Linked DNA regions of Homo sapiens: region 1 is linked to region 2. The links are contacts of gene promoters, found by promoter capture Hi-C in blood cells and fetal thymus (Javierre and others, 2016). All regions are on one chromosome and are shown on one strand. Each heading gives the region's core, a stretch centred on a gene start or on the middle of the fragment in contact. The rest is flanking DNA. Distances are from core to core; before and after follow the strand shown.

What was found. Contacts are between HindIII fragments. The CHiCAGO score rates a contact against its expected background, and 5 or more counts as called.
Region 1: a fragment that was not itself captured here is called in contact with the fragment with the promoter of EIF2B4 in region 2 in 1 of 17 cell types (megakaryocytes); the score reaches 5.5 in megakaryocytes.

Annotation. Positions count from the first base shown.
Region 1 is chr2:27,614,324-27,619,428 of GRCh38, reverse strand. ZNF512 (zinc finger protein 512) reads right to left here. Exons shown (of 14, transcript NM_032434.4): 11 at 4,160-4,261; 12 at 3,105-3,167; 13 at 1,858-1,956. Among named protein-coding and RNA genes, the nearest start is that of CCDC121, 12 kb to the left of the region's middle. The HindIII fragment of the contact is 2,116 bases long and covers 415-2,530 here.
Region 2 is chr2:27,368,497-27,373,389 of GRCh38, reverse strand. EIF2B4 (eukaryotic translation initiation factor 2B subunit delta) reads left to right here and starts at 3,052. Exons shown (of 13, transcript NM_001034116.2): 1 at 3,052-3,106; 2 at 3,471-3,514; 3 at 3,841-3,976; 4 at 4,178-4,384; 5 at 4,657-4,736. The coding sequence starts at 3,076. It overlaps SNX17 (sorting nexin 17), which reads right to left and starts at 2,774. Exons shown (of 15, transcript NM_014748.4): 1 at 2,584-2,774; 2 at 2,047-2,121; 3 at 650-767; 4 at 79-143. The coding sequence starts at 2,646. RefSeq lists enhancers at 2,392-2,481, 2,702-2,761, 1,883-2,844, 2,782-2,871, 3,092-3,371 and 1 more. The HindIII fragment of the contact is 1,836 bases long and covers 1,874-3,709 here.

The DNA of each region.
Region 1 (5,105 bases), core at 223-2,722, 250 kb before region 2:
TGTCAGGAGATAATTACCTTTTTTTTTTAACAGAGTCTTGCTCTGTTGCCCAGGCTGGAGTGCAGTGGCGCAATCTCGGCTCACTGCAACCTCCGTCTCCTGGGTTCAAGCAAATCTCCTGCCTCAGCCTCCCAAGTAGCTGGGATTACAGGTGCCCGCCACCACACCCAGCTAACTTTTTAGTAGAGATGGGGTTTCACCATGATGGCCAGGCTGGTCTTGAACTCCTGACCTCAGGTGATCTGCCCGCCTCGGCCTCCCAAAGTGCTGGGATTACAGGCGTGAGCCACCGTGCCCAGCCGATAATTACCTTTTAAATACTTCCTAAAGCAAAAAAAGATATGCTATTATTACTAAAAAGATATGACTGCCTTCAGAAGACATCTCAGGCTTTGGTTAGGGATTCTGAAAGCTTATGCCAGTAAAGCAACAGAAACCAAATTTTATGGAAGTAATTAAAGCTCACATTGTTAAGTACTATCAAATTTGAGGGCAGAAAATAAATAAAGGTGTTCCCTTTATTTTTCCACATCAGGCAGCAATAGTTTCTGCAGTGAGATATTCCAAGAGAATGCAAATTGTATTCCTAAGCTGTTGTAGTAGGACTATTTAATTATATCATAAACGATTTCTCTGTTCACCTGTATTACTAAAAAACCTTCCCCAAGAGAAAACCCTTGACCTTCTGAACTTTAAAGCATTTTTATACACAATTTTAAAATTTTATTTTGAAAAATTACAAACCTTCAGAAAAGTTGCAACAGTTCAATGAACAATCAAATTTACCACTGTTAATTTCTTTCCTTCCTCTCTTCCTTCTTCCCTCCTTCTTTCTTTTGCTGAACTATGTGCAAATTAGTTGCAGACATCATAATACTTCATCCCTAAACACTTTGGCATATATCTGCCTAAGAACAAGGGCATTCTCCTGCATGACTACAACTATCACCTTTGGGAATGTTAACACTGACACAATACTATTATTTAATACAGTCAGCATTCAAATTTCCCCAACTGTCTCAATAATGTCCTTTAGTTGTTTTATCCAGTATTTTAAACAGCGTTAAAAATGGGTTGCTGGAAGACATTAGAATGCTAGAAGGCATGAATGTATAGAGATCACTGTGAAATAAGAATTTCAAACATGTAAACTCAATCTGGTTCCCAAACATTTGACTTAATTGGATTTAAAGGAATTAGAAGAGTTCAGGCCGGGCATGGTGGCTCACACCTGTAATCCTAGCACTTTGGGAGGCCAAGGCGAGTGAATCACCTGAAGTCAGGAGTTCAAGACCAGCCTGGCCAACGTGGCAAAACCCCATCTCTACTGAAAATACAAAAATTAGCCAGGCATGGTGGCAGGTGCCTGTAATCTCAGCTACTCAGGGAGTATTGCTTGAACCCGAGAGGTGGAGGTTGCAGTGAGCCCTCCAGATTGGGCAACAGAGCGAGACTCCGTCTAAAAAAAAAAAAAAAAAGAGTTCAAGGATGCTTACAGTCACAGTGATTTTTTTTTTTTTTTTGAGTCAGGATCTCTGTTGCCTAGGCTGGAGTGCAGTAGCGCAACCAGCTCACTGCAGCCTCAAACTCCTGGGTTCAAGTGATCCTCCTGCCTTGGCCTCCCAAAGTGCTGGGATTAGAGGCATAAGCCACCCCGCCCACCCCTCACAGTGACTTCAAATACTTTCACAGAAAAATACAATTATATATCTAAGTTTAGAGAATATTTTAACTCTAATGGCTCTGGTAACCACTTTAGAGATACTTTCCTTGACAGCCTTAGTCCATAACAATAGGGACAAAGTCTACCTCTCTTGTGGCTTACATATCAGGCCCACAGGATTACAAAAACCTCACCTCAGCATGGACGGAGTTGATGTGATACTTGACACCACTCTCTGACACAAATTCTTTCTGACATAGAAGACATTTGTATTTTCCAGCCACAAAGTTTCCCTATTTCCAAGAGAGAAACAAAAAAGAATTACTGGTAAATTCAGCAACATAACTGGGCTATGTGTAGGGATTGTTAGAGATGAAAAGAGGGAATTCTACTTCAGCAAAGATAAGAAGGAAAAAGATCCAATATAGTAATAGATTTAGGAAAACCAGCTTGGATGGATGATTATCAACATAAATCCATCCTAGTGCAATTCTGTTCCAATCACCCACCCTACTTCAACACAACCTGAAAGTCTCCTACTTTTTCTCAGGTAATATGCCACATCTTTCTACCTTCCTATGTTCCTTTCACTTCACTTCCAGGTTGTCTTGGTTCCTCCCCCAAAATGATCAAATGCCCAAAATTCACCAGAGGCACCAATGTACAATTCTTCCCACTATGATCTACTGTCGCAAAAAGTGCCTTCAAAATCCAGAATTAGAAGAGTACCATCCGTAATACCTAGTTTAAGGACTCAGAAACTAGGATCAAGATGACAAACTCCTAAGCATTCCTAGACAGATCTGGTTTAGATGCCTACAACTCCCTTGTTGCCTTGAACTGAGACTTCTCTCCCCTCCTGAAGCTTCAGGTTTCCATGGTGCTCATTTTGTGTGAGGAGATTGGAAAATGGCAGCAATTCCCATGGCTGGTAGGTTGTAGGACACCTGGGTCAACATGGAAAAGATTCAGTGAGGTGAATGGCTGTTAGCCTGACACCCTATCCCACCTCCCATCCCGAGAGGCCAGTATGGTTCAGATGGGTATAGAGGATCTTTACCAATCCAGGTAAGCACATGTAAGGTGATTCTACAAAGTTTTAGGCCCACCTAAACAGGGCAGGCCCAGTGTAGGAGATGCTCAAATGCAAGGAGCTGAATCTCTTAGAATTCAGGGATAGGAACTCAGAACAAATATATGTTTCTTCCAATTCCTTTAAATTGATAATGACTTGTGACTATGGTGATCTTTTCTAAGTCTTGGACATGCCCTGGCATCCCACCCAATACCAGACCAAGAATCTTAGAGACATAAAAATCTAAAGCAGCCTCTGAAGATAATGGTAAACAGGACAACTAGCTGTTCACCTAAACTGAATTCTCTTCCATGTCAGACTATTTTAGAGGACATGTTAAGATAGTAAGTTTAAAAAGTTACAAACCAATGTACAAGAGCCCAGGTGAGCTTTAAGGCCAGATACACTGCTGTAGACAGCCTCACAGCCCTGCAAAAGAGAAGAAATAGTATGAAGACTATGCCAAATAGCTCCCTTCTCTGAACAATCTGGCCATTTACACTGACCAACTCCACATTTGAAGGAAGAAAACCAATAATTTGTGCCACAAAACAAACGAAAAAAGAATATACATGCAAGCCGCAAAAGAAGGAAAGCCAAGGAAAGGTAAAAAGAAAAGAAACAGAAGGTGAACAAGTTGTTTAGGAAAGATTAAGCCATTTCCTTCCCTCAGTACTTTCTCTGACACTTAAGAGAAACACAGAAAATTATATAGTTTTTTTTAAAATCTGCTTTATTTAGTGCAAATGTGTTCCCACTTCTTTTATATTTACTCCTCTGCAAAGTACTGAATCTACTATAGCTGTGATAGTTTAAAGATGGCTCTCTCCCTCATCTTGACTCTAGAAAATAAAAATATTTTTAGAATCGTAAAAATAAAGATGGCTGCAAATTCTCTTCCACTCTTGCCATCAAGAAGTGGAGTCTATTTACCCTTCCTGTGAATCTGGGTTAGTCCCATGATTCCTTTGATCAATAAAACACCATGGAAGTGATGCTGTGCAAATTCTGAAGCTAGATTTTAAGAGATCTGCAACCCTGCTTTCATGATCTCAAAATATTCCCTGAGAAGTCAGTCACTGTGTACCCTGCTGGTAGCCCAGCTACTCTGCTAGAGAGAGAGGCCATATGGACAGCCAAGCTCCCAGATAAATGCAGCTGCACAGAAACCATCTTGAACATTCCAGTCTGAGTTTCCAGTTGAACGCACTTTTATGAGCGATTCCAGCTGATGCTACATATCGCAGGAGAACTGCCCTGCTGAGCCTTTACAGAATTATTGCTCTATGGAATTGTGAACAAATAAAATAATTGTTTTAAGCCACTGAGGTTCAGGTACTTTGTCATGAAGGAATAAATAACAGAAGCAAGAGCAGATGCTTGATAAACATTTACTGAATAAATGAATGAGAAAGAACCACCTGGTTAGGACACTGAATACGATGATATTTCTTGATATCTGTCTTCCATTTATGTAGTACTTCCTGGCTGAAGGTAGGGAGCCCTGGACGAGTATATTTTAACTACAAGACAAGACAACCAGAAACATTAGATAAATACAACTCCCAACCAAAATATCCCAAAAGTTTCACACCCAACTCTTTAGGTTATATAATTCTGAAATCTATACTCTTGTACACAAAAAAACTGTAAGATATAAGACCCTATAAAGTACCTGAAACTGATAAGTGTAATGGTCTATTGTTTGTCTTAGAAAAGTTTGATTTTTAACAGAGGACAAGAGACTCAGATATAATACTTCACCTACAGTTTAAAAAGAAAAAAAAGCTACAGAGTACTACATAGAATTAAAATATGTGTTAAAAAAGAAAGATTCATAGGTTCTAATGATTAGGAAAGAAAAAAATAAATTTAAAAAAAAAAGAGAGGGATACAAATTCGCATTCGTGTACTCAGTCATAGAAATAAATGTAGATGAGTAAAAGGTTAGAAGTGTATAAATCAAAATATTAACAGTGGTATTCTCTGGTTGAATTTTTTTTTTTTTTTTTTGAGATGGAGTCTTGCTCTGTCGCCCAGGCTGGAGTGCAGTGGCACGATCTCGGCTCACTGCAAGCTCCGCCTCCTGGGTTCACGCCATTCTCCTGCCTCAGCCTCCTGAGTAGCTGGGACTACATCTCTGGTAGGATTTTGAATCATTTTAATATTTTTTCCTATTTATCTGCATTTCTAATTTTTCTTCAATTATAACATGGTAATTTTGGTATTTTTAAAATTCTAAAACAAAAAAATTAAGGTTCAACATAAAACAGGGATGTGAGAGAAATCACGGAATAGAATACATAATATCTGCTTATACTTCAAAAGTAGAATTATTTCTAGCACTTCTTTTTACAGGCTTTGACA
Region 2 (4,893 bases), core at 1,803-4,302:
CTCTGTCTCAAAAAAATAAAAGACATGACCTTCCAGCAAGGTCCTTTCCTTAAATCTTGGTCCCACCCAAAGCCCTACCTGTTGTGCCCGACGCAGGAAACTGTTGAAAGTCTCGCTGCTCCCAAGCAATGGGTCTTGCCGAACTACGAGGACAAGAGAACATTATTACAGGAACTTAGCACTCACTCTTGGCTCCCCAGTCCTCCTCTCAGTAGGTTCCCCCGACCCCATTTCCTGGGCTGATGGTGGCCTGCCACATCCCCCAGCTGGCCTCACCTCACTCACTGTTTGCATAAATTCTTCACCTGCCCCACCCTTGGCTGCCATCTAGGTGAGTCCAGTCTATAGAACTAGGGAAATAACAATGATGTTAATCTAAAGCACATCAGATACAAATTAAGTTCTCTCCACTGATATTAAGACTAGTGTTATACTAGTATTTCTCATAGATGTTAGTGCCCAAATTGTTTTGCTAGTACACAGAGTTACACATCCTCGTACACTATTTACTTTGCTAACTGCATAACAGATCAAACAAGAGCCTTCCTAGATCTAGAAATTAAATCAGGCCCTTCCACAGAACCAGCTGTTTTTAAGTCTCTCCCCATAGTCCTCAATATAGTCAACCTAGTTTCCTGCAACCACTCACCAGCTTGCATGTACTTCTCTAACTGCTCTCTCCTCTGTTCTACCTCAGCAGGAGTCAGAGAGAAAAGCTTCTTTGGGGGGAATGCAGGAAGCACATTGGCCCCATACTCCTTCCGAAGCTATTTAGAGAAAGAGATACAACCCTTCACATAAACACAGAAAATGAGATGAGGCAATCTACATATGCTCATAATGTTCTCTTGGGTGCCCCTCCCTTCCCTCAGTCCCTGTTCCCCTGTCTACCCTGGTCATCTGAGAAACAATTCCTTTGACAGCGGTAGCACCTCAAGGGAGCTGTCCTAGATATAAGTTGTGCTCTATTTTACTGTGTACAAGTCAGCCCCTCCACAGTACGGGGAGGATTTGTACTGGGCCAGGACCTATAGGGAGCCCCTTGACCACCTAGCAAGACTGTTCACTGAACCCTTAAAGGAAGGAAAGGGCTTTATAAAGTGCACAGTTAATAGCTAAGTCTGTTCACAAAATATCTTAGGACTTAAAGGGACTTTGCAGATCAAAGAATCCATCTTTCAGTTGTAGAAACTGAGGCCCAAAGAAATCAGTTTCTACAGGCCTCATGCCTGTAATCTCAGCATTTTGGGAGGCAAGGTGGGTGGATCACCTGAGGTCAGGAGTTTGAGACCAGCCTGGCCAACATAGTGAAACCCCTCTCTACTAAAAATACAAAAATTAGCTGGGTGTGGAGGCAGCCGCCTGTAATCCCAGCTACTCAGGAGGCTGAGGAAGGAGAATCGCTTGAACCCAGGAGGCAGAGGTTGCAGTGAGCCGAGATCGTGCCACTGCACTCCAGCCTGGGCAACAAGAGAGAAACTCCGTCCCAAAAAAAGATATCAGGTAACTTGTTCAGGGTTGCACAACTAATTATCAGTGGAGCTCTACTGAGTTAAATAGAGTTTAAGATCTGGTAAGGAAGGAGGAGAAACATTGCATCACAGATACATAACGATAATTGGCACAGCTAAACACACTGAAATGAGCCGAAGAACACAAAAGGAAATCGGTGAATCGTTTGTATAAGCAGGGAAAAGAATTTCAAGTTGCCGCTCAGATGACAGAAGGAATGTGCTTTGACAGCCTGGGTGGAGGTAGTGGGGGGAGGGGTTGGTTTGTCCATGCAGGGGTAAAGGCTACTAGAGCAGTAAGACTGGACAGAAAACCAGAATATAAGAACAGGAAGGAGCAGTTGTTGCGCGGACATTAAGCTTCTTAGGGAGTTCCCGGAAATGTCAGACAAGATAAACCAGGGCCCTACCCTGTGGCAGTGATTAAAGGGGAACTACAGCCTACGGGAACAAGAAGAGCGGGTAAAGGGAGACACTGATGTCCACGTGTAGGGAAGGGCTTGAAGCTGTCTCAAGGCAGGGGTGCTAGTCCCACCTGCTCGTGCAGCCCCAGGAGCTGGCTGTAGCGCACCCGACAGTGCAGGACTCCATTCACGTGAATGTTATAGGCCTGAGGACACAAAAGTAGTCAAGCATTTTAGGGTTGCGGTCTGCGCAACCCCCCTGAGAACCCTGGCCGGAAGTTGCCTGGCAACTCGCCGGAGTAACGCGCTAATCTCCCGAGGGATAGTTCGCTTGTTTTCGCCAGGGCCAAGTCCCAAAGCTGAAGAGCCAGTCCGGGGGAAATTCGGACGCTTGTGTTGCAGTCTCACTGCCCAAGAGGCCAGTGACGCCCACCAGGGCAGCTGCGGCCTAGCTCGGGGAAGCGACCCGGCCTAAGGGCCTACAGGAGCTCGGGCGACCACTGCACGAATCACACACATGAGATAAGCTCCCAGAGAGGCCGTCGGGAGTCGGCGGCCCAGGACCAGGCCCGAAGGGTGGCGGTCAGGCCTCAGAGGCCGCTCCGAGATGGCTCGGGCCCGTTATCCCCGCCCCTGCCCGGCCCGGCTCGGCTCCGGCCGCTCCTCACCACGTAGGCGGAGCCGCCGCTGTCCCCGCTGCGGGACTCGGTTTCGGGAATGGAAAAGTGCATGTTCCCTACGGCACGGCACGGCCGGGCTCCGGACTGTGAGGGCCGCAGCGGCTCTGCACGCTCCCCCTCCGCTGCTCAGCGAGTCCCCGCAGCCTCACTCGCCATTTTGGGAGCCCTGCGATCCGATGTGGGAAGGCGGTGGGACGTCGGTTCTGGGACGCAATCGCCTGGGCATGCTGGGAACTGTAGTCTAAAGGGCAAGAGCCACCTGTCCGGATAGGGAGCCCAAAGTGGAGTTGGCCCTCATTGCAACCCGTAGTGCGGGGCGGGGCCTCGGGGCCCGTCGGAAATTGTAGTCCGATTGGGGCTGCGCGCTTCGCTTCTGCGGCTCAGCCTCCAGCCCAGGTGGCGCTGTGGACCCTGCAGCCGCGGAGCGAGGCAGCGGGGCGGCTCCGTGACCACGGCGGGCGGAGCCTAGGACTGAGGGCGATGGCTGCTGTGGCCGTGGCTGTTCGCGAGGGTGAGTGAAGAGCCGGGCCTGCCTACTGGTACGCGGAGCCGACGAGCTCCGGACAGCTAGTGCCGGGCCTTGAGCGCCTTTGGGCCCCGCCGCTCCGTTCCAGCGCCACGCTGGGCTCCGGTCTACACAGTCTCGAGCGCAGTCCCGCGCCGCGCACCGGCTGGTTGCTGTGAGGAGGGTCGGTGACCCCTCCATTCCTTTGATCCGCCGCGCAGTGCGTCCCCACGCGGATCCCTGGCTCGCCTCGCGCCTGCCGGCGGATCCGTGGTCATGCCAACCCAGCAGCCGGCTGCGCCGAGTACTCGTGCCCCCAAACCCTCCCGGAGTCTCTCTGGCTCACTTTGTGCCCTGTTTTCTGATGCAGACTCGGGATCCGGGATGAAGGCGGAGCTTCCCCCTGGGCCTGGGGTAAGTGAGGCTTCCCTCCCAAGCCGCCTGCCAAGCGCTACGCAGGAGGCTGTGCCAGCTTTATTCCGCCCCAGCTCCCATCCCGTGTCGGTTTATTTCTCAGTAAAGCCAGGAGATTTTACAGAGGTCTTGCAACCCTAGGGATATATGATTCTGTCCCTGGAGGAGAAACGTCAGCCTCTGTGGATGTAAGCTTGCAACAGGTAGCTTGTGGAAGTTAGGAAGAACTAGGGATTTAACCATGTGGAAATCTTGTAAGCATCCAATAGTATTTGTTCCCCTTTGGAATTGTTGGGGAAGAGCAGTATCCTATGTCTGTGTCTCAGGCAGTGGGGAGGGAAATGACCAAAGAAGAAAAGCTGCAGCTTCGGAAGGAAAAGAAACAGCAGAAGAAGAAACGGAAGGAAGAAAAGGGGGCAGAACCAGAGACTGGCTCTGCTGTATCTGCAGCCCAATGTCAAGGTGAGTGAGGGGTCTCTTTTAAAGGGCTGGGGTGTGGAGCTGGTAGAGGGATGTGGTGGGAGAGATAAGGGAGAGACAGGACAAAGTTGATTTGAGCAAGTGTGTAAAGCAAAGAGGTTTACAAGGAGAGAAGCTAGTTTTAGCTGGGGCACGGATATCACCTGCCTGCAGCTTGGGCATTTTTTTTTTTAATGCTTTTAGTAGGCCCAACCAGAGAACTGCCAGAATCGGGCATTCAGTTGGGCACTCCTCGGGAGAAAGTTCCAGCTGGTCGGAGTAAGGCCGAACTTCGGGCTGAGCGTCGAGCCAAGCAGGAGGCCGAGCGGGCCCTGAAACAGGCAAGAAAAGGGGAACAAGGAGGACCACCTCCTAAGGCCAGCCCCAGCACAGCTGGAGAAACCCCCTCAGGTATCTTCCCTTCATTTTAAGACCTCCCTTACTCCTAATTATAACGCCAGCTCAGGCTGCCCAATAGTAAAACAGCTCTCCCCTCTCATTCTTGGGACCCAGAGTTCTGAATTGTTCCTGCAACCCCATTATCCTATCCCTATTTCCTTTTCTACCCTATTCTCCCGTTTTCTCCACCTCATCCTGTTTTTCTTGATGCCCCTTATACCCTAAGAGCAAATTACACATTTCAAGACCTACAGTGTCCTGAAAACATGATGATTATCTTTCAGGAGTGAAGCGTCTCCCTGAGTACCCTCAGGTTGATGACCTACTTCTGAGAAGGCTTGTTAAAAAACCAGAGCGTCAACAGGTAGGAAGTGGGTTTGGTGCCTGGCTAGAAAGAGCCTAGGGAAATGGACTGGAGGGAGGAAAGGTGCTGGGTGCAAAGTGAGAAGGATAGGTGCTTGGGTCAGAGTAGTCTTACTGTTCACTTCCTTTCCAGCTTTATCCCATCCTTTTTAAACTCT